Linked DNA regions of Homo sapiens: region 1 is linked to region 2. The links are contacts of gene promoters, found by promoter capture Hi-C in human tissues and cell types (Jung and others, 2019). All regions are on one chromosome and are shown on one strand. The core of a region is centred on a gene start or on the middle of the fragment in contact, and the rest is flanking DNA. Distances in the headings are between cores, read along the strand shown. Region 1 has its middle 5.7 kb from the start of BPIFA3. Region 2 holds the start of EFCAB8 (EF-hand calcium binding domain 8).

Region 1 (2,926 bases), core at 334-2,833, 350 kb after region 2:
CTCACCAGAACCCATGTGCTGATTCCCTGTAATCTTCCCACAATAAATTTTTAGCAGCTCTGAACTGCAAACTGTCCAGCTTCCACAGCGCCATGTGGATGGGGGCAACGTGGCCAGAGATGATGGTGGGTCTGGTCATGATAACAAAAGTATGAAAAGCAGGGGAGGATACTTGGGTTGATTTATCCATTATCTCATAAACATCTGAACACTCTGGTATGATGTTTCCCAAAGGCTAATTAAAATTTTAAAAAGGTTTCCTGTCTTGTCTGGGATGTTTTCTGAACTGATTTTTTGACCTTGAGTGGCTCCATCCTCTTGGCCACAGTCTCATCACTGTGCAGTGGGAATGTTGGTCTCATCTTCCCAGCGCCCTCAGGCAGGAACAGCCTACAAAGTTGTGACTTATGGGAGAAACCTTATCCTGGCCCTGGTAACTCCATTTTTCTTCCCTGTATCACCAAACTTCCCAAAACATATGCTGCTATTCACTGCCTCTCCTTCCTCACCTTCAACCTCTGGTCATTTTTTAAGATGGAGTTTTGCTCTGTCATCCAGGCTGGAGTGCAGTGGTGTGATCTCGGCTCACTGCAACCTCCGCCTTCCGGGTTCAAGAAATTCTCCTGCCTCAGCCTCCTGAGTAGCTCAGACTACAGGCGTGTGCCACCATGCCCAGCAAATCTTTGTATTTTTAGTAGAGATGGGATTTCACCATGTTGGCCAGGCTGGTCTTAAATTCCTGGACTCAAGTGATCCACCTGCCTCAGCCTCCCAAAATGCTGGGATTACAGATGTGAGCCACTGCAACCGGCCATCATTTTTTTTTTCTTTTCTTTTTCTTTCTTTTTTTTTTTTTTTTTTTTTACAATATGGCTTCCTTCTCCAAAGTATTATTCTAATTTAATTCTCATGATAAACCTAGGAAGTAACTGTTGTTTTCCCTTGAATAAGTGAGAAAACTGAGGCTCAAAGAGGTGCAGTGATGTGTGCAAGCTGCACCTCTAAGAATGAGAGAGTCAGGACTCAAACTTACGTCTGCCTTAGAATGAAAGTCTGGGTCCTCACTGGGCCTGTGGGCACACTGTTTGTGTCCATATGCATGTTCCTGACCCCGTCCCCACCACTCTCCCCTTGTCTCACTTGCTCTGGTCACACTGGCTTTCTTGTGCTGCCTCCTCAGCTTGTTCCAACCTCAGGGCTGAACACTGGGCTGGATTTTTATCTGTCCTGTTCACTGCTTGGCACATGGAGGGGCTTAGTGAAACCTGCCAACTCCCTGATAAAGGCTCCCTCCTGGGAGCTGCCACACACTGCACAATAGCATGGAGAATGTCACCCTCAGAGTCACACAATCCCTCTCCCAAAGACAGCTCCCCAATTCCCAGAGGATCCGGGTGAAGAAATTTAGTGCTGCAGCTATCTCCAGCAACCACGAGAATTTAGGATCAGGTAAAGCAAAATGAGCAAATATGGGGTGACATGTGTTGGAGAAAATTACTAAAAGGGGGATTGGGATCCAAAAGCAGAAAATGGAAGAAGAGAGAAAGCAAGTTTGGTCCCTTTGAGAAACGCAGCAGGAAGCAGAAGAGAAGCCAAGTTGGCTGAAGAATAAAATTAATGATCAAACAGGTTGAATGTGCATTTTTAAAAGAAGGACCCATGCCGGTTTCCTCTTCCTACTGGCTGACATTTAAGGGCAGGTGAGGCTGTGCCTGGCTGGTTATCCTTAATGACCTGCCTTGCTCCTTTCCTCCTGAGAACACTCCTGCTATGTAAGCCCCGGGACTTGACAGGTTGGTTCCTGCCCCCTTGTGGTCCAGAGTGTTCATGGTTATGGTGAGACCTGCAGTCTTCAGTCTATCTGGTGGTTCAACTCACTGAAAATGTTGGTATTTGCCATGTGTGTTCCACGGAATCTTATTGGCCTCTGTAGTATATAAGAGGAAATGCAGCCGGACAGAACAAGCTTGCAGACCCCTGCGAGGGAAGGTTAAGGGCTGTAAGTGAATTTATCCAGAAACAAGGTAGAGCCTATCAGAGCCAGGCAGCCCAAGTTCAAATCCTAGCTCCACATTATCAGCTGTGTGTCCTTAGACAAGTGTCTCCAGAGTCAGGGCTCAACATCCATCTGCCCTTATTATTCTTCCTGCCTCTCCTTGCAATGCTTGTGCCTGGGGGAATGGGGGCTGAGGATCATGTTGGGCAGCAGAATGGGGTGTGGGATGAAGCAGTTGGTGGGGAATGAGCAACAGCTCCTCTGAGCTCCCTTCTGCAGGCCAGGCTACCTGGTTCCCATCTGAGCCCCACCCCTCCCCAGCTGGGTGGATTTGGGGATTTTACTTAACATTTCTGTGCCTCTGCAAAAGGAGGCCAATAATAACAGTGCCTACTGCAAAGGGTTGTGTTGAGAATTCAATAAGTCATTACAGGTAAAGCACTTAGCTTGCCCCTGGAGCTCAGTCAGCACTCAATAACTGTTAGCTGGTATCACTGTTATTATTTCAGCTAAGTGATCTTCACACACCGTGTGCATCAGAATTGTCCAGAAGCTTATTCCCAGGATCCCCCTCAGAGAGCCTGACTCAATTCATCAGAGGTGACCTAAGAATCTGCATTTTTACAAGTCCCATCTCTCCCTCCAAAATTCGGTGATGCTCCCCTGGAAATTCCAGCATTTCCATTTTCCCTTTGCCCTCTCCAGGCTACCCTCAGAACCCAGAAAAGGTCAACTCTTCCTTTGTGAAACCCAATATGCCATTCAGAAACGGTCCCCACTCTCTCTTCCCCTGCCATTTTAAGGAAATTCGCCTTTGGATTAAGGTTCCAGCCCCTAGTTCTGTACAGTTGTTAGGCATATGTATGTTAAACACATATATATGTGTGTGTGTGTGTGTGTATATATATATACATATACATATATATGTGT
Region 2 (3,055 bases), core at 430-2,929:
GCTGAAGAAGGATACAAGTTTTGATATCTTAAAATCACAGGGTTGAAGCTTGAAAGGACAGTATTGGCATTGCAGCTAAGTGGGAGTGTGAGGAAGCGCCTTCTCTAGGGCAGGTAATTGCATCTGTTAATGTGGTCCTTGGGCCCCTGAGTTGCTGCCTTCCAATCAGAATTCCCTTAGCATTAGCCAGTGACGCCTGAATTAATCTCAGGTAGGACTTCTAACTTTTTTCCAAAATTATTTTTGTGCAGAGGTTTATCTAGATTTTTCTTCTAAATGTCCTCCTCCCCACTTGTTTTATTATTACTGTTTTTTTCTCTCTTTAATTTTTTTTTTTTTTTAATAGAGACATGGTCTCACTATGTTGCCTGGGCTGATCTCAGACTCCTGGGCTCAAGTGATCCTCCTGCCTCAGCTTCCCAAAGTGCTGGGATTATAGGCGTGAGCCATTGCGCCTGGCTCTGTTACTGTTTTTCTAACCTGAGTTACTTAGGATCATATTTTCATTCTTTTTTAAAAAGATGGGAGTTTTCTGAACTTTTCCTTAACTAAAAAGTGGAATGCATCTTAATATTTTCCTTTTTTTACTTGTGTTTCTCCCCAGGGAGGGAAAAACATATTTATTGTGACAGAATTTAGCATATTTTAGGCCACATTAAAATACTGATAAATGTATTAATCAGTGAAAATAGGTTATAGTGAAAAATATATACCATTTGATTAATAAAAATGTTATTGGAAAAATGCAAGAACTGCTGTAAGAATTGCTAACATTGTGTTGGAAAATAAATATACTAAGCTAAGAAACAATGGGAAACTGTCATATGTAGGGCCAACAGCCTTTTTTTTTTTAAACCCTTCCAATTTATTAATATCTAGTCTAATAAACCCTGATTTATAGGACCTCTGCACCTTTTTTGACTTTTTATTCATCCATTCTTAATATTCTACACTATGACAAAATCCTTAAAACTCCATTATTGATGAAATGGGAACAGACTTTTGTTTTTGTATGTTGGTGTTCTCTGAGTGGTGAAGGCCCAGGGAGAATGTTTTGTTTGGTGGTCACTTAGCATTTGAAAACATCCACTTCCTTGTGACTTAGCTGGGTATCTTTTAACATCTGGAAGCCACGTCCCTGATTGAAATCTCTGGAGACAACTTACCTTTCACCAACTTGTCTGCCAAATTGCACCATGGACCAAGATTGCAGTGGCTGCATCAAGTCTAGGCCTGCCCTGAAGTCTGGATTTGTAAGTCCCCCATTTCAAATGGGGCAGAAGGCAGAGGAGCAGAGGAGCCACTGTGCCTTTCGCTGTCCTGGAGCCAGTTGGCCTTCTGGTTTTGGTGAACCCTGCTTTTATAAGAGGACTCCCTGGCATCTTCCAGTTTCCCGCTACTTGTTTTATGTATTATTTTATGTCTGTGTTTGTCCTGGAGTGCTGTAACTCCTTTCACTGTCTGCTGTAAGTTCAACTTCTTCAATAAAAGAAATGTTTCAAATTGGATGAAAAATGGTTCTGTGATTATGGTTTGTGGGACGGGTTCTGATGCTTCATTTATGTTCTTCATACGGAATTCTGTCTCATTTCCCTAGTTCTAAATATGACCAGCAGACCCAGAGTTCCATCTCGACTTCATAAAGGAGCTGTCTTGGACTGGGAACAGCTGCCAATGTCTTTGTTGAGATGGGAGTTGGAAAGTGTTAGCACTTTGCCAGACTTTGCCAGCAAGATTAACTGAGGAGATCAAATTGAGTCAGGGTGAGTGAGGGTTTTAGGTGAAAGTTGCTCTCCAAAAGATTGGATACCTCTGCTGAAGACCTCTGCCTGACCTCCAAGGCTGGAGAGCAGCTCTTATCTGTGTCCTGGCTGGCTTTCAATGCATGTATCCTTAAGTCATCTGCCTCTACAAATTCGTACAAACCACTCGTTCCCCTCTCATCCCTAGCATGTTCCCCTAGTGGCTGCTCTGAATTCTCACCCCTGTTCTGGATGGTACTCTCCCACCTGCCTTGCCCTGCCCCTCTTCCGTCAGCTCCGGACAGGTCAACTTTAGGGAATAGATTGAGGCAGATGGATGTGACTTCTGATCTGACCTGTTCTCCAATTCTAAATATCAACCGAGTTTTACATCTCAGCCTTCCCTTCCTTCCCTTCAGAGTTGGAGGAATGGTACTTGTCTTGGCCTCTCCCCTCTTGCTTTTGCCCTTTTCTTTTGGGTGGTCTCTGTTGGCAGCAACCAGCACTTTTTTTCCCATTTGGCGTTTTACCTCTGTTCATGAACATACATAGAACCACTTTCTCCTGGTGAAAGACATTTATCTTACAAAATATTTAGTTTTGAAATAATTAAAAATATATAAATAGTTGTAAGACTACTACAAAGAACTTCCCTTTGTCCAGATAGACTAATTGTGAACATTTTGCCACATTTGTGTTATTATACATGTTACTTGTTAAACCATTTGAGAATTACAGACATCATGCCCTTTTACCCCTAAATACTTTTCAGTGTACATTTCCTGAAACAAGGACATTCTCATAACCACAATACAGTTATCAAAAGCAGAAAACATTAATATGCTATCTAATAATATAGAGTCCATGTTCAAATTTTACATAATTTCACCAAATAACAGCCCTTGCAGCATTTTTGTTTTTTCCCAATCGGATTCAATTCAGAATCGTGCATTGCCTTTAGTTGTTGGGTCTCTTGAGTCACCTTTCATCTCTAACAGTTCCTTAGCCTTTCTTTGGTTTACATGGCATTTTATTTTGGCCAGGCGCGGTGACTCACGCCTGTAATCCCAGCACTTTGGGAAGCCAAGGCGGGCGGAAAGCACTTGAGGCCAAGGAGTTTGAGACCAGCCTGGCCAACATGGAGAAATCCTGTTTCTACTAAAAATACGAAAGTTAGCTGGGCATGGTGGCGTGCACCTATAATCCCAGCTACTGAGGAGGCTGAGGCATGAGAATCATCAGAATCTGGGAGGTGGAGGTTGCGGTGAGCTGAGATTGAGCCACTGCATTCCAGCCTGTGACAGAGTGAGACT

Evidence for each region. Contacts are between HindIII fragments. The study calls those that stand out against the background at their distance.
Region 1: a contact is called between a fragment that was not itself captured here and the fragment with the promoter of EFCAB8 in region 2, in 2 of the 25 tissues and cell types used here (bladder and dorsolateral prefrontal cortex).

Annotation. Positions count from the first base shown.
Region 1 is chr20:33,210,206-33,213,131 of GRCh38, forward strand. It overlaps the pseudogene BPIFA4P. Among named protein-coding and RNA genes, the nearest start is that of BPIFA3, 5.7 kb to the right of the region's middle. The HindIII fragment of the contact is 4,421 bases long and covers 1-2,926 here.
Region 2 is chr20:32,857,244-32,860,298 of GRCh38, forward strand. It overlaps EFCAB8 (EF-hand calcium binding domain 8), which reads left to right and starts at 1,680. Exons shown (of 27, transcript NM_001143967.2): 1 at 1,680-1,763. It overlaps LOC119746555 (a long non-coding RNA gene), which reads left to right. Exons shown (of 1, transcript NR_171378.1): 1 at 1-1,508. RefSeq lists an enhancer at 1,547-2,359. The HindIII fragment of the contact is 16,025 bases long and covers 1-3,055 here.